4 separate regions of the Homo sapiens genome follow, and regions 2, 3 and 4 are each linked to region 1. The links are contacts of gene promoters, found by promoter capture Hi-C in blood cells and fetal thymus (Javierre and others, 2016). All regions are on one chromosome and are shown on one strand. The core of a region is centred on a gene start or on the middle of the fragment in contact, and the rest is flanking DNA. Distances in the headings are between cores, read along the strand shown.

What was found. Contacts are between HindIII fragments. The CHiCAGO score rates a contact against its expected background, and 5 or more counts as called.
Region 2: a contact is called between a fragment that was not itself captured here and the fragment with the promoter of DHRS3 in region 1, in 8 of 17 cell types (activated CD4 T cells, total CD4 T cells, naive CD4 T cells and 5 more). The highest score is 15.1, in activated CD4 T cells.
Region 3: a contact is called between a fragment that was not itself captured here and the fragment with the promoter of DHRS3 in region 1, in 10 of 17 cell types (activated CD4 T cells, naive CD8 T cells, non-activated CD4 T cells and 7 more). The highest score is 14.9, in activated CD4 T cells.
Region 4: a fragment that was not itself captured here is called in contact with the fragment with the promoter of DHRS3 in region 1 in 4 of 17 cell types (non-activated CD4 T cells, activated CD4 T cells, naive CD4 T cells and 1 more); the score reaches 8.1 in non-activated CD4 T cells.

What each region holds. Positions count from the first base shown.
Region 1 is chr1:12,614,617-12,621,343 of GRCh38, reverse strand. DHRS3 (dehydrogenase/reductase 3) reads left to right here and starts at 3,134. Exons shown (of 6, transcript NM_004753.7): 1 at 3,134-4,190. The coding sequence starts at 3,996. RefSeq lists a silencer at 1,127-1,378 and enhancers at 1,614-2,245, 2,246-2,877, 2,878-3,509. The HindIII fragment of the contact is 18,116 bases long and covers 1-6,727 here.
Region 2 is chr1:12,383,234-12,389,960 of GRCh38, reverse strand. VPS13D (vacuolar protein sorting 13 homolog D) reads right to left here. Exons shown (of 70, transcript NM_015378.4): 59 at 4,588-4,701; 60 at 3,627-3,776. Among named protein-coding and RNA genes, the nearest start is that of SNORA59A, 120 kb to the left of the region's middle. The HindIII fragment of the contact is 6,419 bases long and covers 2,268-6,727 here.
Region 3 is chr1:12,428,829-12,435,555 of GRCh38, reverse strand. All of the region lies in intron 65 of VPS13D (vacuolar protein sorting 13 homolog D), which reads right to left. Among named protein-coding and RNA genes, the nearest start is that of SNORA59A, 75 kb to the left of the region's middle. RefSeq lists a cis regulatory region at 1,992-2,002 and an enhancer at 1,925-2,069. The HindIII fragment of the contact is 6,682 bases long and covers 799-6,727 here.
Region 4 is chr1:12,475,126-12,481,852 of GRCh38, reverse strand. All of the region lies in intron 67 of VPS13D (vacuolar protein sorting 13 homolog D), which reads right to left. Among named protein-coding and RNA genes, the nearest start is that of SNORA59A, 29 kb to the left of the region's middle. RefSeq lists enhancers at 141-659, 2,392-3,248, 3,249-4,106 and a silencer at 3,465-3,759. The HindIII fragment of the contact is 1,795 bases long and covers 2,945-4,739 here.

The DNA of each region.
Region 1 (6,727 bases), core at 1,885-4,384:
CGGGTTCAAGCGATTCTCCTGCCTCAGCCTCCCAAATAGCTGAGATTACAGGTGCATCCCACTGTACCAGGCTCATTTTTGTATTTTTTATAGAAACTGGGTTTCCCCATGTTGCCCAGGCTGGTCTCAAACTCCTGGCCTCAGGTGATCCGCCTACCTCGGCCTCCCAAAGTGCTGGAATTACAGGCATGAGCCACCGCACCCGGCCTGGATTCTGCATTTCTAACAGGCTTCTGGTCCAGGAACCACAGGGTGAGTGTGGATCCTCGCTGCACCGGGGGAGCTGAGCCACGGAAAAAGTTAGTTCTCCCAACTGCAGCTCGCCTCTTCCCTTCAAGCCCAGAAAGCCTCCTTTCACATTTTCAGGGACAGACCTGGGATGTGAAATTTCAAACTCTGCCCTGAGTTAAATTCCAGGAGAGGGTACAAGAGCAAAGGATAAAGGCTGGGGGAGGGAGGGAAAGGCAGAGAGGACGTGTCCCTGCTGTTCTCACTGAAGCCAGGCCACACGACCCTCAGGGCCAGCCTGCTGAACTGTGCACACACACATCACCCCCACACAAGGTCTCCTTGGCCCCATCTTCCCAGGGACCTCGGGGGAGGGCAACAGAGGAGGTGACAAGTTTCTCTCTGAGCAGTTGATGCTGGGAGAAACGTGTGGCTTGCAGAGCTGCCAGTCCCACAAAAACCACATCCTGAAAGATGGACCAAGTAGAAAAAAAGGCCACCATCCACCTCAGGCCAGCTTCTGGAACTGTCAGTTCCTTTGGGGAATGTCTGACATGTTCTTTTTCCCTCTGATTTCATCCCAAACCTTTTGAGAAGCAGGTTGCGTGGCATTGCACAAGTTACTTAGATTTACTGAGCCTGTTTCCTCCTGCAATAAATGGGCACGAGCCTCCCTGGGCTGTTAAGGAAATTCAATCAGAAACTGTGTAAAGGCCCTGAGGCACTAAAGGCCAATTTGGGTTCCCGACCTCCTTCCCACCGTCTGCCCTCCATCCCAGGCACACAACCAGAGAGATGTAAGAGGGACCTAACGGTTACCCAGCCGGTCTGGCATCTGACCGGGGTGAAAATGCATCTCTGTATATGAGTTGCTTCATATCTTTTGGCTTTAGTTTCCCCAGCCATAAAAGTGTGTTTGGGGTGGGGGAGGAGGACTATGATCTTCACAAGCCCTTTTAGACTTGGGGTGTTAACCTTACATGAGAGAAATGCCTGGAAGAAAAGCATGGCTAGTTAGCAGGAACGCCGCTGGGTTGGAGGCCGGGCAGCTCGGAGGCGCAGTATCCTATCTGGGCCACCAGGCGGCTCCGAGGACAACAGATGAGCAAAGCCCGCTTTTGCAGCCTGGTTCTGTCTTCAGATCTTTCCAGGCTTCTTCGCAGGCCTGGCGGACACCAGCCGCTGCTGGGTGGGAAAGGCCTGTCACTCCCAGGCTGGAATCGCTTTCCCATTTTTACAGACCTCGAAGATGAGAGGAGGCCGTCACCACAATGGATTCCGGCCCTGGGGTCTGATGGAGACATTGGTCCGCCCTTCGGTCAGACTCTTGGGGGCGTTAGGGGGGTGGGGGGGTCTCTGCTCTGCAACCCTTAGCTGAACCCCATCCTCCACTTCTCTCCTCCCGTCTGGTCAGAGTGGGAAGAGGTTTGGATTGGGATCCCCCCTCCTGCACTTCCTGGCTGGGTAACCTGGACGATGGGATAACAGTCCCCCGATTGCAAGGTCAGGGGAAGGACTGTGTCAGAATATAGGCCCTCAGTGCAGGACAGTTGCTCATCCTAAGCCTCTCCTGCCTTTTGCTCTTCCAGTGGCTTTTCACCCAGAAGGAAGATCCTCCCCTGCAGAACCTCTCCCCAGAACTAGGTCTTTGCAGGTGACGAGGTAATCCCAGCCTCCCCTCCCCGCAGATCAGCGTTTTTCGAAGTGACTTTCTCACCAGGCGGAGCATTGAAAGTACCGATCCCAGCGCACCCAGCCCTGCTGAATCAGAATCTCTGGGGGTGAGGCCCAGGAATCGCCGTCTGAACAAGTCGCGGGCTGGAAACGGCTGCCCCAGATTACAGGGCAGCTCCCTGCTTCGCTCTCGCTCCTCCGGCCCCGGGAACGTGCAGGGGGGCGGGAGGCAAGTCCCATCAGCACTTTGAACTGGGGCTGCTTTTTAGTGACTCACCTCCCAGACTTCCTGCAACAGACAACTCTAAATAGCTCGGTCCCACCCTCCAGCAGGGGAGACATTCCGGTCGGGAAGGGCAGGAGGTTAGAAGGTGGGTGCCCCGCCAGGGCAGTCCAGGGAGACCCAAGGACAGGAGACGCTGGCTGCACAGCACAGGGGCGCACGAATAGGACGTTTTGTTTACAGGCTTTTGTTATTAAGGAAATTGGTGTCAGTCAAGGTAATTCTAGCTCAGATGAGCAATAAATATGCTCCCAGCTAATCTTGTGGGGATTTTATTGGCACTCGGAGCAGAGGTTCCTTTACCTTGACTACTCCCTCCCCTCAAAGCAAAGTCCTGCTCCCCAGCGGCTTCCCCCTAAGCATCGTGAGGCACTTGGGTCAGGCTTTTAAAAGTCCACTCTACGTGAACACAGAAGAGGTCCGGGCAAAGGTGAGGAGTGGCTTCCTGATCCTACCTGGAGGCCGAGGATGACCAAATGACCTGAAATAAAACCCTGGGTGACCTGGTTGGATCAAGGCATACGCAAGCTCCCCCGGGCCTGCTCCACACTCGGGGTGATCACCTGGCCCGCGGGCGGCCCGGGCAAGGAGGAACGTCTCGAGAAGGCAGCCGGCTCGCCGGAGTCGGTTCCAGCGTGTTCGAGTTACAGCTGCGAGCCCTCAGGGACACCGGCGGCAAGTCCCGGCTTGCAGAGAGGGGAGCCAGTCCCGGGAGAGCGCGAGTCCCGGCGAGCCCGAGTGCGCGCCTTATGCGCGCTCCCCGCGACGGCGCAGGGGGAGGGGAGGCCGCAGCAGCCACTCAGAGGAACGGTAGTGAAGCCTCCCAACAACTTTAACTGTCAATCAGACTTAATGGGGTATTGAAAAAATGGGGGAAAAAGGGGCCGCCCTCTCCGCGACGCGGCTGCCCGGGGAGCGAATGAATAGGGCCGCGCAGACCAAGGCGTCCGATCCACGCGCGCTCCACACCCGGACCCTCTCCAAGTTGGAAAGGACAAAAAGAAGGCAATAAATGCTAAAAAGGGAGAGAAGGGGAGCTGGATCGAGCGGCAACTCCCAGCCTCTGCTGGAACAGAGAGGGAGGGAGGGAGCCGGAGCGAGCGAGCGCGCGCGAGGGCGAGCGCTGCACGTAAAGAAACTGACACCCGGACCCCCCACTTCTCCTGCACGTTGCTGGCAATCAGATCGCGTTTAAGCAATTTCCTGAGCCCAAGAATAGCAATGAGTCGGGAGACTTTCGCGGGCTGAAATTGGGAGCTCCAAGCACTTTTTCCCCCCACTTTTTTTTTTTTTTTTTTTCTGGAGACGGGGTGGGGGTGGGGGCGCTACAATTTGGAATCAGCTTTTTTTTTTTTTTTTTTTTTTTTTTTAATCTTGCACTTTGAAACCGCGGGACCGAGGCAGGGTGCGCGCGTGTGGTTGGTGCCTTTTTTTTTTTTTCTTCCCCTCCCTAAACTCCTCTGTCAGTCTGTAAACATTACCTGAGAATTCCCCAGCCGAAACGGCTGCTGGGGCAAGAAACTTCTTGTTAGAACTTTCCACCTCCGGCTTCCCCCTCCACCTCTTTTACCGTCCCAACCTTAGGAGACGCTTTTTCTCCCCCAGAGGAGAATTTATCTTTTTTTTTTTTTTTTTTTTCTTTTTCTCACCCGGTGCTTTGCATTTGGGAAGAGGTGATTTCAAGAGTGGCCAGGTGGGACGCCTCTCTCCTCCTTATTCGGTTTACTATTTATTGTTCGGGGTGTTTTTTAATTCCTGTATTGCTCGGCCCGGGGAGTTTCGCCCCCTGCCCGGCTCCGCGGCGCGGAGGATGGTGTGGAAACGGCTGGGCGCGCTGGTGATGTTCCCTCTACAGATGATCTATCTGGTGGTGAAAGCAGCCGTCGGACTGGTGCTGCCCGCCAAGCTGCGGGACCTGTCGCGGGAGAACGTCCTCATCACCGGCGGCGGGAGAGGCATCGGGCGTCAGCTCGCCCGCGAGTTCGCGGAGCGCGGCGCCAGAAAGGTACCAGGCACTGCGACTCCAGGGAGTGGGGGGCCGCAGGGGCGGGGGTAAGCCCACCTGCTGCCGCTGCGGGATCCCGCGCCCGGGAGCTGAGAGTCGCCGGCCACCCCACTTCTCCGCGCCACCCACGAGTGCTGAGCTAGTCGGTTTCACCTTGTAAATTTCCCGGGCACCGGACTGTCTTTTTTGGCAGGTTCAGAGTTGATCCGCTCCTTTGGGATCGGTGGCTGGCTGACTGGCTATTCACCCCCACCCTGAAACCTAAGAGACCCACCATTTCCCACATTCCTGCCTCCCAAAGGAAGGTGTTGTGCCCCCCTCCCCCGCCTTCCCCCCTTTTTCTTGCCGCCACCCTGGTGAGTGCAGGGTGTGCGCACTCCTGGGTAGAGCTGGGAGCCGCCTGCTAGCTGGCGCCTCGTATTTTCCTTGGCAACCCGCTACCCAGCCCCAACCTGGGCGGCTGCAGCTCTGAAGACACGAGAGAGGGTACTTGGTTTGGGTTTGAAAAGGGAAGAGCGGTCTTGTATGCAGTAGTCTGGCCGGACCGACACTGAGAGGCCCAGGTGTTTGGAAAGCAGGAAAGAGGAGGCCAGGGTAAGCAGCTACTGATAAAGAGCCCTTGTTCTCACCTTCAACCCTGTCCCCTCCCCCCCAGTACACCCCCCAGGGATCCCTCCCCATTTAGCTGGAAGGTGGTGCTGCAAGGAGGGTCCTGCCCACCAAACACGGCCTTTAACTTTTTGGTGGTCCTGGCACCCCTTGCTCCAGGTTTTGGAGACCTGGTGCCAGAGTGGGGAGAGTGGGCAGGCTGTCACCCAACTCCCAGCCCAGGCCAGGCTGACTCACGCGGTGACCAGAGCCATCAGGAGAGGGAGGCAGGCCAGGCTGTCTCCAGCCAGCCCTGTGAAGAGGAAGAGCGAAAACAGGGAATTAGTTTGAAACTTAAACTGTTGTGAACTAGGGGGGTGAAAGGGCCGCAAAGCCAGCTGATCTGACATGGAGCCGCATACCTTGGGGATTAAGTAAATATGTACTGTAGAAAACCAAACCTGCATGTAATTCCAGGTTGCTTTTGTTTTGTTAAATACTGCCCTGAGATTTACAATTCCTCCGGGGTGGCTCTGACTGGGACTGAACTTTGGAGCCTGAACTATCAGCCAAAGCCGATCCGATTAACTCTTCCCTAGCCGGGCTGGCCGGAGCCTGTGGTGGCCAAGCTAGCAGGGGTCTGGCTGTCCAGGACTCCCTCTTCTCCTTGGGTGGTTTGGACAGCCGCTTGACCTTGCATTTGGAGGGGGAGTTGGGAAGCGTTTTTAACCCTTGGACACAACGAATAAGGGGAAGTCAGAGTTGTTCTCAGCAGTTTCATTTCCTTGAGGCGATGCCCCATAAAAGGGCTCCTGAAGCTCTTTGTGAAGGGGACTGAAAAGGGCAGATGAGGGTGTCCTTTGGGGCGGACGTGGGGTTTGGGACAATTGCATGTGATTGTCATTCTTTAGCTGTCTGCATCCCACAGAAACTTTTTTCTGAGTCTTCCAGCTGGCCCAAGTCCTGGGTCTCTTTTACTGTTCTTGTAGCTGACTACAGTAGGCAGATGAGGAACTCTTAGTCAATCTGGAAAAACTCGACTGACTATAAACAATCCTAAATTGAAAGAAGTGTATGGCATTGGGGGGTGGGTGTGATAGTACAGAGTGGAGCCTGCAAGTTCACGCACCGGGAACCAAACCCCACCTAACTTGGACTGGACGTCCTCTTCCAGGGAATCCAGCCAGGGCCAATTAGAAATGTGTCTTAAATTGGTGTCAGGGTCACCAAAAACAAAAACAGGATCCATGGGGGCCTGTGAAACTTCGAGTGCCATTCATGCTCGGTTCAGTCATCTGACTTGTCAGGATGACCAGCAGTGCTCCCTGTAACTCGCCATTATCTGACCAATTACTGGAGCTACTTTATAATGAGGCTTCTGGAGCTACTTTATAATGAGGCTTCTGGAGCTACTTTATAATGAGGCTTCTGTTTGCTGTCATGGTGGGGAGTTTGGAATTGTGGCTTCTTGCCTAACACCAATGAGAGGACTTTGGGACAAACCCCCAGAGCCAGGAGTGTTTTGAGGCCTAGTGGGGTTGGGAACAAAGGGTCAAGTGTCGAGGGAGTGGGGAAATTATGGGTTGGGGACAGGTGTGAACAGTGGGCTTGGGGGTGGCCCAAGAGTACTAGACCAGAGAGGTCCAGTGCCACCCGCAGCCTGCAGTGATACTAGACAGGGGGCGGCTGTGTGGAACCACAGATGACATCCCTTCTCCTCTTGATGGAAGTGGAGGCTGCATCTGAGAGCTTCCCAGCCTAGATTCTGGTGGCTGCATCTGAGAGCTTCCCAGCCTAGATTCTGGTGGGACTGGATCTGGGAGGGGGAAGACCCCAAAAAGCAAAAAAAAAAAAAAAAAAAAAGTGTACCAGAGTCTCTGCAAAGAGCTGACGTGTCCAGGAGTTATCTGTTTATTTGGGAAGGAGGGAGAGAGTTGACAACCCAGTTT
Region 2 (6,727 bases), core at 4,228-6,727, 230 kb after region 1:
CAGATTATCAAGATGAAATCAGTCTACTACTCCACAATGGAGGTAAGGAAGATTATGCATGGAATACAGGAGATCCATTAGGGCATCTCTTAGGATTACCATGCCCTGTGATTAAGGCAATGGGAAACTACAACAGCCCAATCCAGGCAGGACTACAAATGGTCCAGACCCCTCAGGAAGGAAGGTTTGGGTCACTCCACCAGGAAAAAATCCCACAAAACCATGACCTGATGAGGTGCTTGCTGAAGGTAAAGGGAATACAGAATGGGTAGTAGAAAGGGTAATCATCAATACTAGCTATGACCACATGACCAGCTGCAGAAACAAGGACTGCAATTGTCATGAGTATTTCCTCTTTCTTTTGTTAAAAACATGTTTGTGCATGTATACACTTGTACTAAGAAAATATCTTCATTTTATTTCCTTTCTCCTTCATTATGTGACATAGATTTATTGACTTCATATCAGCATTCAAGCATCATTAACTTTATGTAATAGTATTTGGGTTGGGGACTGGTGTGTTTCCAGCTGTACGAAGGATGGCTGTATTATGTTAGGTGTAATTATGACCTTATAATCTCGGCAGTTGACAAAGGGTGGACTTGTGATGGTTAATACTGAGTGTCAACTTGATTGGATTGAAGGATACAAAGTATTGATCCTGGGTGTGTCTGTGAGGGTGCTGCCAAAAAAGATTAACATTTGAGTCAGTGGGCTGGGAAAGGCAGATCCACCCTTAATCTGGTGGGTGCAATCTAATCAGCTGCCAGCAAATATAAAGCAGGCAGAAACATGTGAGACAGGCCTACCCTCCCAGCCTACATCTTTCTCCCATGCTGGATGCTTTCTGCCCTTGAACATTGGACTCCAAGTTCTTCAGTTTTGGGACTCGGACTGGTTCTCCTTGCTCCTCAGCTTGCAGACAGCCTATTGTGGGAACTTGTGATCATGTAAGTTAATACTTATATACATATCCTTTTAGTTCTGTCCCTCTAAGAGAACCCCGACTACACCAGTAATATTCTTTACTTTGAAATCTATTCCGTCTGATGTTAATCTAGTCATTCTCATTTCCTATGACAAGGGTCAACATGTTATATCTTTTTTCATCTTCTTTCCTTTTAACCTATTTGTGTCTTTATCCTTAATGTGTGTTTCTTGTAGGCAACATATAATTGGTTCTTGCTTTTTTATACAATTTGATAATCTCTGCCTTTTGATTACGGTGTTTACAACATTTAAATTTAGTTAATTGATACCATTAGGTTTGAGTCTACCATCTTGCTAATTATTTTTTATTTGTCCTATCTATTCCTTTCCCTGCTTTCTGTTTTCTGCCTTCTCTTGGATTATTTTTTTATGATTTCTTTTTTTTTTTTTTCCCCCTGAGACAAGAGTCTCCATCTGTCACCATGCTGGAGTGCAGTGGCACAATCTTGGCTCAATGCAACCTCCACCTCCTAGGTTCCAGCAATTCTCCTGTCTCAGCCTCCCGAGTAACTGGGATTACAGGTGTGTGCCACCACACCTGGCTAATTTTGTATTTTTAGTAGAGATGGGGTTTCACCACGTTGGCCAGGCTGGTCCCGAACTCCTGACCTCAAGTGATCCACCTGCCTTAGCTTCCCAAAGTGCTGGGATTACAGGCGTGAGCCACCTCACCTGGCCTAATTTCATTTTATCTCCTTTGCTGAATTATTAGTTATAACTCTTTGTTATTTTGGTGGTTGCTTTAAGAGTTTATGCTGTTTATCTTTATAATTCTACATTCAAGTGACATCATACCACATCATGTATAAGATTACACTAATAGACTTCCATTTCTCCCCTTCAGCCTTTATGCTATTGTTGATAAGAATCTCACTCTTACTTTAAATAAGAAGAAAATAATCTTATATATTTACCCAGGTAGTTATCATTTCTGGTATTCATTACTTTGTGTAGAACAGACTTCAATCTGATACTATTTTTTTCCTTCTGCCTGATGATGTTCTTTTACATTTTTTGTAGCATGGGTCTGCTGATACCTTTCAGTACTTTAAAGATGTTGCTCATTGTCTTCCCACTCTCATTGTTCCCAAAAAGAAATCTGTTGTCATTCTTATCTTTATTCCTTGGCACATAGCATGTCTTTTTTTTCTTGTTCCTTTGCTTTAACACTGGTTTTGAGTAATTTGATTATGATGTGCCTTGGTATAGTTTCCTTCACAGTTGTGTGCTATATTCCATCCAGTGTAGTTTTCATTACATTTTAATCTCTACAAGCTTTAGTTTTTTTATGTCTTCCATATTGCTACTTAACCTTTTGAACACAGAGAATACAGTTACATTAACAGTTTTAACGTCCTCCAAAAATTCTAACATCTGTGCCAGTTGTGAATCAGTTTTGACCAATTAGTCTCCCTACTTAACCTTTTGAACACAGAGAATACAGTTACATTAACAGTTTTAACGTCCTCCAAAAATTCTAACATCTGTGCCAGTTGTGAATCAGTTTTGACCAATTAGTCTCCTCATTATATAGAAAGTTTTCCTACTCCTTTGCACACCTGGTAATTTTTGATAGGATGTCAGATATTGTGAATTTTACCTTGTTGGGTGCTAAATTGTCATATTCCAATAATCTTCTTGAGCTTTATTCAAGGATATGGTTAATTTACTTGGGAAGAGGTTGATTCTTTCGGATCTTCCTTTTATGATTTCTTAGGCAGTCTATAGCAGTGCTCAGTTTAGGGCTAATTAATCATGAGGGCAAGGCTTTCCTGAGACTCTTCCCAACGTCTCATAAATTCTTAGTTTTTCCAGTCCAGCTGGTGGGCACAAGCACTATTCCTAGCCCTGTGTGGGCAGCAGGCACTGTTCCCTCTGATCCTTTCAGATGGGTAGTTTCCTCACATACATCACTGACTAATACTTGGCTAAATACTCAAGAGGGACGGTCTATAGATCTTCAGAGTTTTTCTGTGCAGCTCTCTATGCCCAAGTGTACCATCCTATAACTATAGATACCTTGGTCTCTCTAGACTCTCAGCTCTGTTTTCTCAACTTCTCCACTGTGCTGGGTACTTGCTTGGTCTCCCCTCCCTGGAAACGTTCTCAAATTGGTAAGAAAGGCAATTACAGGGCTCAGCTCGTTTGTTTCCCACCTGTCAAAGCACTGTCCTTCATTGTCTGATGTCCAGTGTCTCAATACCATTGTCTTCTTATTTATCTGGATTCTGGGGTTGTTTCAGGTGGGAGGGTAAATTTAGTCCCTGTTACTCCATCTTGACTGAAAGCAAAGTCCAGTTCTTTAGTTTGTTCTCCCTATGACAGACCTCAATCCCTCCGAATGATGGTTAGATGACTTCCTATTGGTTTTTCTATTGGCAAGATGGTGAACCATGGGTCACCTTCCTCCATGACACCCTGACTGAGTTACCTCTAATATATGCAGAATTCTGCTGTATGTAGAAAAATTAATGAGACGAATGTAGGTAGAAACAACTATTTCACAGAATGATTTTTTGAAGGCCACAAGATATTTCCTCCAAAACATTAAAGTTCTTAGAACATCAAACATTAGATCTGGTTGGGTGATCAGCATGAAAACAAGGTGACTAACAGCTTTGGAACTTCCCCCTTACCTGTACATCCTGTATGCTGAGTTCAAGCATGTGACTGGTTGCCAGCTGTGTATAGTGCACATTGATTCCTGTAAGACTTGCAAAGACCAGTTCTTCTGGGACTTTATTAATTAAGGACAACCCAATTCCACCTTCTAACCTCACAAGCACCTGAAAGGAAACCAAAATATGGCACCCTGATTGTTTTAAACACAGCTCACAGTATCCAGGAGAGTATAAGAAAATAAAGCATTTTACATTCCTCTACTCCCGATCTCTCAGCAGATGAAAACCACTTAGGGGAGTCCTATTATTTACCTGGAGGGCTCAAATGCTATCATCTCACTGGAAGCCTTGCTTTCTAGGCATACCCTTCACCCCAACGAGAACTCCAGAGTATGTGATGATACCTCTATCAAAGGACTGATGACATTCTGCATTTCATTATAGAAATCTAATTATTTGGTAATCTTTCACCTTATTTGGGATGAAAGCTCATAATCTGTTATCCACTACACTTCCATAGCACCCAACACAGTGTTTTACACATAGGCATTTGATTTTTTCAAAAATCACTGAATAAACGTCAGATAAATATACTTTTTCATGTTCATCTCATCTTCCTTTTCAAACTTGTCACTCTCCAATCCCAAACAGAGAAAACAGAAGGAAGATGTCAGAGATGGCTGAAGCAAAAAACAAAAAATTGTTTGTCTTAAATCTTACTGAAATTCAAACAATTTAGCTTCCTTTATTGTAATAATAGTTTAGCAATGCTTACTACATGCTGATTCCACATAAACTTTGTTGTCATTTACATAATACATTCACACATTCACTGATAAACAGTAAACACTGTGAAGCGTAACTCATATTTAGAATCATACAGGATAGAAAGAAAACAGAAGGTCTAAAATACCACCAAGTAAAATTCTAAAAAACTGATGATCAAATAAATAAATTCACAATATTTAGACCTTACTTCCAATTCCTGCTCTGTATCTGGATTCTTTAATTTCTGCAGCTCTTGTTCGGTGACAGGAAGTTCATCCACTTCATATGAACGGCTGCTTTTCCGGTGGCAGAAATCTGTTATCTGAAGTCAAATAAAACACCACAAGAAGATGATTCACTCTTCCTTATTGAAACCTATTCTAACCCAGAACAACTGTGTAGGTCAAAAGTCATTATATAATCAATAATCCTATGGAAGCGAATGGTTTCCAAAGCACTGGTAAGGTAAGATTTGTGTAATAAAGAAGCAAACTTGGTTTCAAGTCTGCATGGCAAACTCAAGCTATACACCTTGAGAGCCTCACGTAGTGGGGTTAGATATCTGCAGATGATCTCAAATTATAGCTCAAGTCAAAATATGCAAACCTCAAGATCACTGCATTCATTTTTGCCTTAAGATTGTTTTTTAAAGTGGTATTGTGAGCCGGCACAGTGGCACACACCTGTAGTCCAAGCTACTTGCGAGGCTAAGGTGGGAAGATCGCTTGATCCCAGAAGTTCAAGACCAGCCTGGGGAACATAGCGAGACCCTATCTCCACAAAAAATGAAAAGTAATTAGCTAAGCATGGTGGCATGCACTTAAGTTCCAGCTATTCGGGAGGCTGAGGTGGGAGGATCACCTGAGCCCAGGAGTTCGAGGCTATAATGAGCTATGATTTTGCCACTTCCCTCCAGCCTAGGTGAAAGAGAGTGACATAGCTAAATAAATAAATAAATAAATAAAAAGTGGTGTTGTGAATTGTGATGCACTATCTCAGAGAGCTCATTGCTACATTCCAACATCTTTTTTTTCCTTTGTTCTGATTACGCTATGACCTAATAAACCCTTATCCCCATCACAGATCTCTCCCCTGGGTTTCAGAGCCATAGTTACAATGACTTATGGACATCTTCACATAGATATCACACAGTTACCTTAACTCAACAAGTCCAAAACCTAACTCCTCCCTTCCTCTGCAAGTCTGCTCCATGTTCATCCCTTAGTGATCTGGATTATCATCCTGTGAGTTGCCCAAATCAGAACCTTGGAGGCCATTACTGACTCCTTCCTCTCCCTCATTCCCACATTCAGTCACAAAATCTGCCTGACTCTACTCCTAAGTAAGCTCTCATTTCTATCCATTTCTCTCCAGCCTCCTCATGTCCACCCCTGCCACTTCTTCCAGTTCAGGCCACCATAACCCTTCATTTACATTAGTGCAAGAGCCTCCTACCTGGTATTTCACTATCTCCAGTCTTGCCCCACTCTGCTTCTCTACATTGCAGCCAGAGGAAGTGATCTAAAACAATTTTCTAATCATGCCATTCCCTGACTCCTTGTTGCCTTAGAAAAACCACAAATTCTTTAGTATGTATCTCAGACTTTTTATGATCTGGCCCCTGCTTCTATCTCCAGCCTTCTTTCTTACCACATTCTGTGTGCCACTTGGGCTGAGGATCACTCTGCTACCTGTGGGCCTTCACTAGTCAACTTCCACATCGTATGTCATTTACTTCCTATGTTTATTGGTCAATGATGGTCCATCCCCACTAGAATGTAAGCTCCAAGAAGGCAGGGAGTTTTGTCCGTTCACTGGTAAATGTTCCGTACCTAGACCTGTGCTGGCTCAAGTAGCTGCTCAGTAAATACCTGTTGATGAACATGCTTATTACTGAGGGCACAGCCCCTCCACCTGTACCTTTCTATTTGGCTAATTCCTTTCAGTTAAACTCTAGGTCTCAGTTTAAGTACTACTTCTCTTAGGAAGCTCCCCACCCTCTAAATCTGGGAATACAAATCCTTTCCATACACCCTCCACTCCTACTCTCATTAACACAATATTTTAATTATCTGATTAAGGATCTCATATCTTCTTGTTGTTAATGTTATTAAGATATTATGTTATTAATAATAATTAACAACACTATTAATATGCACTGTTAACATTATCTTGTTTAAATCTTATACTTTTTTAGGTTACCACATATTTCATTGATACTTTGTTTATACTTTACGCTTATCTTTTTGTTGTACTTTAGTTCTTGTAACAACTTTGTGAGGTAGATCCTATCCCCATTTTACAGATGAAGATACCATATCTTCATATCTGGCATAAACATGTTCAAT
Region 3 (6,727 bases), core at 2,890-5,389, 190 kb after region 1:
GGATTAAACAAATCAATTTGTATGAAGACTCAGAACAGTACCTGGCACATAGTGAAGCAGTCAATAAATATGAGTATCTTTTTGTTGTTGTTGTTCAGACAGGGTCCTGCTCTGTCACCCAGGCTGGAATGTGATGGTGCAAACACAGCTCACTGCAGCCTCAACTTCCTAGGCTCGGATGATCCTCCCACCTCAGCCTCCCATGTAGGTGTGACTACAGGCGGGTGCCACCACGCCCAGCTAATTTTTGTATTTTTTAGACTTTTTTTTTTTTTGGTCATGTTGCCCAGGCTGGTCTCGAACTCCTGAGTTCAAGCAATCTGCTCACCTCAGTCTCCCAAAATATTAGTACCATTTTTAAAGCTATCCATTCAGTTACTAAATTCAAAACTTATTTCAACTGGGCAATCAGTATCAGTGTCTATCCCATGTTTTCTGTATAGCAATGCTGAGAAATAAAGATAAATGTAATTAACATTTTAAACACTTACGGTAAGGATACACTAACATATTCCGCAGGGCTAAGTTAACTACTCCATTGTAACTATTTATTTCATAAACTGCATGGCAAGCCTGACAAGCCTACTGGTCAACTTTGACAAAAGATTATGTGAGACAAATGCCAAGGAAATACAAAATTAACATTGTTGTTACTCCTTATCAGACCACAGACAAAAACAAACCCACCAACAGTCCAGAATGAAGGAAACAGGTTGTTGGCTTTTGATTGGAATTTCCTAGGATTGTTACCATGTAGTACAAGATTAATCTAAATGTTTCTTTGTGCACAGACAAGCTTATGTGGAATGTATCAGAATAATATAATAAAGGCTTAGGTTTATGTGTGAACAAAACTGCTTTCAAAAATGTATCATTATCAGGCTGATTAAGAAAATACCACAGATTTAAACATACCTGAGGCCTATAAATAAGTTAGTTTGCTGCTTACTGGGGGTGGGGGGAATACACAGGCTAAATAAACAAACGAAAGTACAGGAAAATCAAACACTTTCAAATGAGCTTTCTTCCTTAAGTAGGTGTAACTAAAACCCAGTTGTATGCTAGGACTACTGAGTATTTTCAAGATAGTGCATGCTGTGGCATTTTAAACCACAGAGCCAAGCTGCTACCACCGCCACCTCAACCACCAAACTTTAAGAGCACACGCTGTGCACTGACTCATTTCATCCTCCCAGCAGCACCCTTCACAGCTGGCAAGTGGATTTTCCAAGCAAAAGGGAGAAACCTAGAACACACCACAAATAGGTACCTATTTTTGCCTTGATGTGTCAAAGTCAGAGAAAAGGGCAAAATTCAAGCAGCTGACCAACGGCATTTCAACAACAGGATGTTCCCAGGGAGACTGCGGCAAAAGATGTCTTTCACAGTATATGTAATTCCACAAAAATAGCAGTTAAAACCAATACGGCATCAGGCACAATGAATGACAATTTCAGGTTAGAAATAACCAAATGCTCAGCCTCTAATTTGTTTTCTTCTGTTTTGAGGGATAAAACAGAGGAATAAAGAATGTGCTGGAAATTTGGGGAATGCACTTCAAACTTCTTTCCTCCTCCTCCTCCTCCACACACACACACACACACACTCTCTCTCTCTCTCTCTCACTCTCTCTCTCTCCCCACCCCCTACCTCCTCCTCTTTGTAAAAGGCCTTTAATTAGCTCACATCCTATCCTGGCCAGGGCTGCCTAATACATTCTGACACCAGCCTGTTGGCCAGGCAGTGGGGTCTAAGTGCAGGCCTGATTAGCGGGATCCCAGTGGATCCCCTGCCGCTCTTATCTCCACAGATGCCTGATGAGTTTGGTATCTTCCTCCCAGCCCTCCCGGGAAGCTGCCCCAGCAGGTGCCCATTGGCAATAGTTTTGTGTTACAGGCCTGAATGAATGATCCCCGCAGGAGCTGCCGACTGTTTTCACAGACACAGAAGGCAGTCAAAAGTCCACTGCGTGAACTTGGAATGACCCCAGCTGCAGAGTCACTGGCGGGTTCATCGGGAGGGCAGGCACGCTTTATTAAACAACTAATACTCTTCACAGATAACTTTCCGAAAAAGCAAAAGTGTTAACTCTTTGCAATCTTGCTCTGACAAAACACTTCAGCTGTGGCGGGGCTCCCTGTGTGACTGAGGGTCTGAACCCAAGTGAGGGCTCTGAGATGGAGGAATGGCGCCAGCAGGGACCATGATTTCATCTGGCCTGAAGAAGGGTTGGGACTCAGTCACCATTTGGTCTACTGTTTTGTTGTTGTTTTTTTGTTTTTTTGTTTTTTTTTTTTCCCCAAGCGTTCCAGATTAAAGCGAAAAGGCAAAAAGCAAAGGTTTCGAGCACCTACTCCAGGGAGGACAGTGTGGCTGGGAGTCAGCCTGACAGTTACAGCCCCCAGCCAGGCCGGCTCTCAGCACCTCCAGAACAAGAGGGTGGCCCCTGGCTCATTCTGCCACATGCCTGTGCACCCTCGCAGATATGCGTGGGCCCCCATGGGGCTTCCATTCTAAGTTACCAGGAGAGAAAAGGTACTAAGGTACTAAGCTGTGAAGGCCATTGCAAACTCTCATCACCTGTGGGACTGGTGGGGCAGTCATTTTGTTGGCAGCAGCCAGATGCTGTGCAGTGGGTTCCCTTTAGAAGGAGGACTCAGACGCCAGGCACAGTGGCTCATGCCTGTAATCCCAGCACTTTGGGAGGCTGAGGCAGGAGGATCACTTCAGCCCAGGAGTTAGAGACCAGCCTGAGCAACATAGAGAAACCCCATCTCTACGAGAAAAAAAAATTTAGCCAGGTGTGGTGGTGTGCTCCCGTAGTCCCAGCTACTCAGGAGGCCGGGTTGGGAGGATTGCCTGAACCCAAGAAGCAGAGGTTGCAGTGAGACAAGATGGTGCCATTGCACTTCAGCCAGTGAGACTGTCTTAAAAAAAAAAAAAAAAGGGAAAGGATTCAGAAAAGGAAAGGGGTTCAGATCAAAGTGTTCTCATAACGAAGACAAAGCCATCACAAGTTCTTCCAGGGTTGCTGGACAGCAGGCAACTGGACACATCCACATTTTCAGTGTCCACTGAGAGGTACAGCAAACAGCCACTTCTGTCCTAGGGCAAGAACCAGTACTAAAGATGTTTTCGCTCTTTTCTTTTTTTTTTTTTTTGAGACGGAGTTTTGCTCTTGTTGCCCAGGCCGGAGTGCAATGGCACAATCTAGGCTCACAGCAACCTCCGCCTCCCCAGGTTCAAGCGACTCTCCTGCCTCAGCCTTCCAAGTAGCTGGAATTACAGGCATGCACCACCATGCCCATCTAATTTTGTATTTTTAGTAGAGATGGGGTTTCTCCAAGTTAGTCAGGCTAATCTCGAACTCCCGACCTCAGGTTATCCGCCCGCCTCAGCCTCCCAAAGTGCTGGGATTACAGGTGTAAGCCACCGCACCTGGCTTGCTCTTTTCTTTCACACAGCCTTTAGAAAGAACCCGATGACAATTCTAACAACATACAGAGAAAAACATATGAACATTTAGAAAAATTTTAAAATTCATTTTAACCCACAAAGTTAGATTAATTTTGGCATCACCCAAAGACTATGTGTCTATTAAAGTTTCATCTCTACTACATCTCACCACTGCCCACTAAATCTAATTATAAAGGGATTCCCTATTTCTTTCTTTTCATGGGGGCAGGTCTTGTTCTGCTTTCAGGAGAGATGCAAAAGTTTTGCATGGGTTTACTCACTGGGTAAGATTCTGCTGAAGGACTAGTAATAGAAGGTGCTTTAAGGAGCTGTACTACCTGCAGCCCCTTCCGGTAAGTTGACCTTGACACAGAACAGACTGGTTCAGTGCAACAAACCCTTGAGGGCTTCCTAGATCACAGGCTAAGTGCTTAGGGTTAAAGATACCAAGACGAGTATGACTTAGTCCCTTGTACTCATGGAACTCAGTATAGTATGGGAGACAGACACACAAATGGATAAAAAATAAAGAACGCTGAGAAGATATACAGTAGGCAAGGCTTACACCCTACTACTTTTCTCCCCCTCACTCCTACCAAGCAGGTGCCCACAAGCTGCCGGCCCAGTCTCAACAATCATACTAGATCTGTAGCCAGAAAGCCTGGGTTTGAGGGCTAGCCCTGTGACTAATTAGCTTTGAGAACCTTACAGGGTCTCAGTTTCTCTACCTATAATTTGAGAGGGCTAAAGGCTGGCCTTAAGGTTCTTTCCCAAATCTGCTATCCAAAGAGTTTCTACTGAATATCAGCGATTGTGTTAAGAGTCTGCATCTGGGAAAAGCTATTGTAGCTTTGCCATATTCAGCTGGAATAACTAAGAAAAGTTTTAGTGTTGACACATCTCTTAGGAAGAATACAAGATGGGGTTAAATAGGCAAAAGTTAGAGAGTTTAAATTATCATATGAAATATTATTAAAACTAGGCTTCTCACCAAATTCAATTTTTTAACATAAGTTAGACACAGTTCACTGTTATGTTTTTACCTTTTACAGAGAAACAAGTGGCAAATTCTTCCTGTGTTTAGTCCTAACAACTTTTATCTCTCCATATAATTTATTTGTTGAGGCACCTCAGTTTGTCACGTTAATTGATTTCTAAGCAACTCTTCTGTAGCAATCCTACAACTTTCACTTGCTAATTCTACTGGACACAAAATCCAAACAGGCTGGTAAAATCTATCTGGCTTTGCCCCCTTTTGCTTTGTTTCTTAGTGATCGTAGGACTGGAGATTTGCATGACCCGCTGAGACTATAGAACCAAGCATTCACACAATCTGGCGTGGGTGCTAGGAAAGCAAGGCCCTCTTGGAAGCAAGATGTTTCACAGCTGTCTTCAAGGCATCAGAAGCTCCTCTGGCTCTCCTCTGAGAAGGCTTAGTGTGGTAGGAAAAGAGTGGGCTCAGTGTTTGTGAAGCCTGGGCACCATCCCCTGGTTCCAACACTGACTGCACGGTCTTGGCAAAACCATTTAACCTGTGTAACTTAATTTCCCATCACTGGAAGGGAAATGATAATCATACCTAACCTGCTGGCCCCACTGGGATGTTGCAAGGTTAAATTATCTCACAGACGTGAAAGTGCTTTAATTCCTGAAGGAGGAAAGAGTGCTTTCTAGAGCAGCAGTATGGTCTTTGAAAAGAGCTTGGGGCTGTAAAGAGCCTGGTCCTCTTCCACAAACTCCCTGTTTGACCCTCCAGAAGTTAATTACCTTCACTGTGACTCAATTTCTTTATCCGTCAAATGGGGATAAACTTGACTCTTTAATGCATAAGTTTGTGAAGATCAAATAGTAACAGGAGGACGCTACAAAGGTTGAATTGCTATAAAACTACAAGGAGCCATGAGTGCCTCCTCTTTTATAACTAACTTTGGCATGATCCTTGCTCATTTCCAAGTTACCAATAAAGAGAAAATTACCTCAATGGCCACAATATCCTGCTTTGAACATTACAATGGCAACAAAACTGAGACAAGGGGCTGTTTGGGAAGCATGTTCTGCTTAATTTTCACTTCAGTGAAAACAATTAAGGTTTCCAAACCAATGTTTTATTATATAAATTCAACAGCTTGCAGGAAATGTTTACTTCAAACATTTTCCTGGAATAAAGCAAATATTTCCCATAAATATTATTTTAATTCATTAGATTAAAAGGGACTAGGTTTTCTTCTCCTTCCTCTAAACCAGCTTCCTGCTACCTTAAGCGAAGCCTGGGTCCAATCAATAGTGCCCACCTGGCTTCATGAGAGCCAGGTCAGTATCTGCTAAGCGCTTGCTGTGCCCCAGTGCTGTGCTAGACCTGAGGCATGGGGAAGGGAGGAGAAGAAATAGGATCCTAAAAGTCAATGTCCTTTTCCTGTCTGTATTGCTATAGTACGATTTTGGCTATTCACCAGCTTACAGATATGTTTGGGGGGAAACTTGTAAATAAACTTTTAAAAAGTTTGTATGGGCTAAGTGCAGTGGCTCACGCCTGTAATGCCAGCACTTTGGGAGGCCGAGGTGGGTGGATCAGCTGAGGTCAAGAGTTTGAGACAAGCTGGCCAACATGGCGAAACCCCATCTCTACTAAAACTGTAAAAATTAGCCTGGCATGGTGGTGGGTGCCTGTAATCCCAGCTACTTGGGAGGCTGAGGCAGGAGAATCACTTGAACCTAGGCGGCAGAGGTTGCAGTGGGCTGAAATCACACCACTGCACTCCAGCCTGGGTGACAAGAGTGAAACTCCATCTCAAAAAGAGAAAAAAAAAAAGGTTTGTTTGTTTCCATAAAAAAAGAAAATAGCTAGACAATAACACATTCATTGAATGTACAGCATGTGAAAAATGCTATGCCAGATAAAAGACAGCCCACATGGATACAACCTGGATCACTTTAATTTTCCTTACAATAACTATTTATGGCTAGAGGGGAGACTGGCAAAAAAAAAAAAAAAGTTGTCAGATAAAATCCTGGCCCCCCTCCACAGGGTCTACTCTGGGATGCAAATAAATACAGACCGTTGCATTCCATCTTTTGTCTCCAGCCAATCTCATCCTTGAGGAACACAATCAAGTGTTCTTACCCCTGGCCCCACAGCACTTCTCTCATGGAACTGTGCAGTTTGCACAGACCCCACTGCAATACTTATTTCCTCTGGATTATCATTACTTACTCCTTCTCTGCCTTACCTGTTCCACATCCTCACAAAAAGAAGAAAACATTTTCTAAGTCT
Region 4 (6,727 bases), core at 2,593-5,092, 140 kb after region 1:
TTCCCTTCTGGCCAATATAGGGAGAGAGAACATCTGGAACTGGTTTTGAGGCTCCCCAGCTGCAGAGTCACTAGAGTGAAGGGGTTTACAGACTGTCCTTTCTGATTCTCATCAGGGTGAACTACAGCCTAGAAGACAAGCTGGTTCAGAGACCAAATCAACTTTGCTTTGAAATGTTCTCCTTTCCCCATCCCCCTTGAAAGCAGAATTAATGATCCAGGTGGTGGGAAATCAAAAAATAAAAGAGAAGGACTTGGGGTCACCTCAGGTGCATTTCTGTGCCTTCATAAAAATCAGATACACCCCTTGGGTCAGAGTTGACACCAAACCTTCAGAGCACTTGTCCTTCTAGGAAACAAGAACCAACAACACTGAATCCATTTGAACTCCTGGACTGTAGGTCTTGCCTCTACAAGCCTGGAAATCGATATATATAAAATGTGTTAGAACTTGGTGGAAGCCAGTGGGGAAAGAGGCTAGGCCCTTTCAGGTCAGGGAAGGGGTTGGGCACGGAGGGGAAAGACCCATCTGGTGACAGCTACGGCTCACACTACACTATGTGCCTTTTCTACTTGGCCCCGTTGGGTACTGGGATGCAGACTTGCAAGCAGGACAAACTGATCAGCAGCAGGCCCTGGGCCCCTGCCTGGGCCTCCCCGTGCCTCTGGGAAAAGCAGGTGCAGCCAGGAGTCGGCCAATGCAGAGGCAACAGCACCACTTCCTGTCATGCTTCTCTGAGCAACACAAAGCCTGTGCTCTAGACTTTCCTCCAACTGAGGGTTTGTTTCTCCCTCTGGACCTGGGGGCAAAAGGCAGACAGAGAGGGCAGGTGCCTGTGTCTTCCAAAGACCAAGTTCCTTGGGGTGGAGAGAAGCAAGCAGGCCTAGGGCAAACTTGAAGTTGACAAAGGAGAGTGAGTCACACAGAAGGCAGGAAATGAGTCTTCAGTTACTGCTCTTCATTGCTCCCTTTCCAAAGGATTGCTCAGATCCAAGAAGCTGAGACCAGACTTCCTTCTGCATGTTACATAAAGCACTGGGAACCTTCTAGTTAGTGCCCTCTTTGTCTTGAGATTTTTGCAGATAAGAATTTCCATAAATCCCAGTTAGTCAATCATCTGGCTACCTCATGGCATTTTTAGGTATGGTTAAACAGAACCAGAAAATTTCAAAAGAGCAGCAGAATTCCTTTATACAATTTAACCTTAAATACATGATGAGGAGAACCCTCAAACAGGTACTCCATTAAAAGTCAGCCAGTACCAACGTTTGCTGAACTTCAGGATTAGCAATCATGTAATGGAGTCCAGATCGTAAGTTAGCTCCATCCTGGGACTCACTACCAGAGCCAATTTCTAGGTTTTTAAAGCACTTTGACCATGGAATCATAACACAATCCAACAATCTCTGGGTTGGCCAGCCATTTAGTCTCTTCTCCTACCTCTAGAAAGCTTCTGTCCAGGATCCGTGGCACCCAAACAGAAGCTCTCCCTGGCCTCCAAAAGGAGATGGCTATGACATACTGAGCACATGCACCTGGGACAGTCTACTGCGGAGGCTTCTTGTACTGTGTACCAGCTGGAGTTCCCAGGTTACCGCCTGGTGAAGATGGTCTTGGCAGCATGGCAGAGCAAAGATGGGTTGCAGCAGAGAAGTGTCACTGCTATTCTGTGACAAACTGGCACACTGTGAACTTGGAAGGCTGCAGTAGTTCATTATTTCAGGAGTGGAATGGGGTACACAGGGATGGACCAGGGACAGCACAGCTCCTGGGCACAAAGCTTAGTGACCTGCTTCTCTAGGCACTGGCACTAAAAGGCCAGGGTCTCTCCATGCTCAGGCCCACTGCTGTTTGGCCCAAAGAGGCCCTTGAACATGAGCCCTTCCAAGCTTCCCAGCTATAGTATATCCCTCACACTGTCTCTGTGTTAAGCTGGTGGGCTGAGGGAATTCAATACATACCCTTCATTCGCATTGTGGGGTCCAAATTTTATAGTACCTCCTCTCCAAGTGAACCAGGGTCTTTGCACAAATCTTCTGGGCTATAGGCAGATATTAAGCTCCTACCCTTCATATCCAAGAATCGAAAGGAAGTAGACCTAACACTTGGTCAGATGCTTTGGATTGAAATCATGAGGTCTTTCGATGTGAGGGACCGAGAGATGGCCCAGAAGCAGCACAGAGATTAGGAGCATGTACTCTGTGTTCAGTTGGCCAGGGTCCACATTCTGGTTCCCTTCCTTACTACCTCTGAGATCTTAGACAAGTTACGTATCCCCTGTGTGCCTCAACTTTCCCATCTGTACAATGGGGAAAGTATAGCACCCACCTCATAGGGTGGTTGTGAAGACTGAATACTAATGACAGCGATACCATGCAAGCTAGTCAATGTTTTGGATCAATTTCTGCAGCACTGTCATCCCGAGCAGGTGTCTGCCTAAGAGGCATTGTCCATTGCAGACAAGCAGCAATCTGGAAGTGACAGACACAGATTTCTTCCTGGACACCATGGACAAAGCACAGGCAGGTCCCGAGTTTGGCCAAAGAACGTGACTGGCTGATGGACAGGACTAAACTACCCCTTCGCCCACTTTCTTCCTTTTGTCCTTTGAACACAGGCAGCCCTTTCTTTCTGACTATACTTATGCTAAATCCTTGTTTGTCTGCCCATTTCCTCAATGCAGTGCCCACTGTAAGAACCCAGGCCACTCCAGGCCTTGCTGTGACAATGTGCCTATTTCTACATGCCCTCCCTATTGAATGGACAGAGTTCCCATGGGGCCACCGGCCTCGGACAGTGAGAACTCTGGGCTCACAGGCCACTCCGTGGGGCGGCCTTCCACCTGCTCTGTTTTAGCACCTGGGCGTAGCTGTGGAAGGCCAGAAAGCAAGGCTATTAACAGCTTTCGAGGTGATGGGGAAGGAAAACGGCATCATCCCAAGCTTGACAAGAGCACTCCACGGCCGGCATCTGACCCACCTCTGCCACCGATGCGGCCTCCTTGGAGACAGGCAGGTTTCCTGTGGTGTCAGCCCTGTTTCCTCCAGCAACATTATACCACAAACAGAGAGCTACTCTGAAGAAAGCACTAAGGTGTCCCGTTTCTGGCCGGGGGGAGGGAGGCAGACTGCTTTGCTTCTCCAGAGAGAAACATCACCGTGCCTTGACCCTCTCTAGACAGCGTTTCTTCCTCTCCCCAGTCCTGAAAAGCTGTTTGAAGAAAAGAAACGTGCAGGCTTTCCTTTATGACCTCAGATGGGCAAGTTCTGAATGGCAGCTGGTTCTATTACATGCAGTGTGAGAGGGTTAAACAGGACAGCCTCGACTCTTTATAAACTTTTGCCCTGTGGATATGCACTCATTGGCGGCAGTACAAGACTCGAGCTGTATTACACGCCTTAATGATATGGTTCAACTGTCGGTCAGGCTTGGGCCTGGCATTGGGCCAGACCGCAATCAATGGGACACAGAACCTCCCCCTTTCAGATCATCACGAAGGCTCATATTATCTCCTTTTCGTCGTGCTGGTTAAATTTATGGAGCAGAACCCTGAAGCCGCATTCCTCGGCCTGGGCCGGCCCACGCGGCACTCCCTCCCTTTGTTCGGTACTGTAAGCCAGCCGTGCTTCGGAGGACTACAGGGTTGTTAGTTCAGGCACTGACTGTTTGCTCATGACTGAAGTGAAAAGAGTTCAGGGGAAGGGCAAAAGGACAGCCCAAGTGTAAAACCCCATCCCAGCAGGCCCTGGGCCCCTATATATAGGCCCCGAGCTGCTCCTGAATGTCACATTTCACTTTGTTCTCACAAAAGCAAAATCTTCAGTCTGATCCCTGACGAACCTTCCATAAAACAGCTGCTGAGTCCTCCTACAGTGCACCCCCACTTGAACTCCTGGATTTTCTGGGGTGCCATGGGAGGCAAGATTGCCCTTAATACAACCACACTAAAAAGGAGACAGATCTCTATAGCTATCTGCTAGTCCTTCCAGGTTCCACAGGAGATGGGAATGCCAACCCTGGTTACTAGCTGGTCTTATTTTTAATGTAGAAAAAAAAAATTTATTTTTCGGTCTTTGGCTATAAGGGAGGGATACGTGAGTGCTGTATGTGAATGCATGTGTGTGTGCACAGGAGGGAAGTGTTTATAGGGGATTTAGTCTTATGGAATCAAATAGGAGAAGGTCCCAAGCATTAGACCTGCCGAATCTATCCATGTGTTCTCATTAATGCTCTGATTAGCATCCAAAGTGTTAAACAAGCAGCTCACATGGGCAGGACTTCATTTTAGTTTTAGAGTTTAGCCCAAGAGGAGGGCTTTCCTGGAATGTTCTAGAGTGGCACATTTACAACTCACTACAGAGGACGCCACTGGAGGGCTGGAAAGGCAGGTCATCGCGGAGGTGAATCCAGGCTCTCCAAGTGATTAACTGTGAGTCTATGGTTTGTCACATCGAGCTGTTGTGTATTAGTGGGTCCACCTGTAAAATGAGGCTACTGGGTTGAATTTTGGAAGTCTGAAATGATTACTAGAACTCTTCTAACGAAGGCCCAAGCAAAATAGAGAAAGAAAGAGTAGGAGGAACATAGAGAAAAAATCCAAAACCAAAAACAAACCAAAGGTATAAGAGGAGCAGGTGGGAAAAATGGCCTCTGAGGGGTGAGCCACTGCTGACTTGATACGTGTTTTTCTGGTCAGTTTTGTCTTCACCCATCTTGATACTAAGAGTTGGGCCCAAGCTTGTTAAAAATAAAAACAGAAATCCCATACTAGCAACTACATGCCCACTGGCACTTTCCAATTCCGGGCAGAAGCAGACTTCTTTGATGGGGTTCAGTGAAGCCAGTGGTCTGTTTCAAATCAGACCCTAGTTCTATCTGCAGGTGAAAAGTCACGCTTCCTCCTTCGAAGTTAAGCTATGTATTTCTGAACAGAAACTGTAAATATACTCTCGGATTTTCCTCACAAGGTTTCCTTGTCTACTGTGTTTGGAGCTGGTAAGTGAATTTGCCATTCCGAATCTTAATTTAAAGCCCCTTTTGGTGGTGGAGGCAGGGTAGAGAGGAGGTGCCACGGATCACAGAAAACCATCTCTTGTTATATCCCTCTTGTCTATGCTTTTGTATACTATTTGTTCTGGTTTGTTTAAAATATAGTGTTATAGAGAACCACTTAAGCTGGGAAATAAAAGGCAACAAAGAGGTAGGCTAAATTTAGGAAATTTTCAAGAAAAATGTGTAATCCAGTCAATCTGTCTCCAGTTATTCATATACATGTTCAGGGTTCAATTAAGTCTTTAGTCATAATATGCCACATCTCCCAGGACAATCTACAAAGCACTTGCACTCACATGATCACGCAGGTTACATTAATACACGTAAATGAATCCAGTCTCCATTAGGCGTTGAGTGTGTAACACGAGGACTCCTGAAGGCCTACTTTGGCCCATCATGAGCCCAGATGCATCAGGAGTCTCTGATATATTAAAATTTGGAAAGCTGGACCTACCCCTGAGAATGAGACTTTAATATGGGCCAAGACAGACTGAGAACTTATAAACTCAATGCCCCTGCTTCCTGTTGACTTTTTCTATCTCAGGATCACTTTTATGACAATATTCCAGGAACATGCAATTCTAAGTAAATAAACTGGCCAAACTCTGAAAATGCAGGAACACAAGTTGCTTACAAATGAGATGTAGAAACCAGGACAAAGAGAGCTGCCATAGCAGACTCACTGGTGTGCACGCTTCTCTCTTGTACATTCTGTGGTTTGCCTGTTCCACGAGCTATGTGACACTGCTATTTACTCTAGCACTGTGGCCAAGGCTAAGAAGTACTCATCTAATATGGGTTTGGGAACTAAAAGGAAATATGTTTTGGAATTTACTTTTTCACACCCACACACCATTCTTGTACAAAATGCCTCTGTCAAGGTGTTTTTTTGTTTTTTGTTTTTTTTTTTTTAAACATTGATTTCTTGGCCATCAGCTAAAAGAAACTAAACATTCAAGTACCTCCACGATGACTGAGCATGCGGGAAGTGGTTTATTTACAACAGGTTCCCTGGACATTTTATTTGATGTATGCTGTCCTGACAGACTCCACCCATGTGATCAAGCCTGCTATGTATGTCTGGGGCCACTTTGTAGTTTTCCCAAAGGTGAAATCAGAGGGAGGGCTGAAGTGGTGACAAGGCCAAATTGGCTACAGACTCAATCCCTTGCGGGGATGAGATGTAACTCACTTAAATGGTGCTAAGTCCAGCTGGGGATTAGGCTAGGGCCACAACCTGCCAAAGAATACTTTAGGTACACTACAGCTGCAGATTAACCTAGTGCTTTTTTATTTTTAGAATCCATTATCGGGCTGCCATATATTCTGCATGGGCTTTTTCTTCATTCTAATATCCAGCTTCCTCCCTGATGGCAGAGCCAGCCCTAGGAAGGGAGCTTCCTCTGTGCCACTCCTCCAGGAAGTTACACAACTAGTTATTCACCTCAGCCATGCAGACATGACCAGGGCAAGGATGACCCTCTCCCCCTTTGTATGGGGGAGAATGACCTGAGATGGGGATATAAAGCTGTCTGCACAAGGTCACAAAGCACAGTAGCATCAGAGCTGGAGTCAGGGCTCTGCTCTTGTGATTTGCAATCCTGTTCTCTTGCCAAGGGGCCAAGCTGCTTCCAGTACCCAAAGGGAACATCCAATAGCTTATTTTGATCACAGA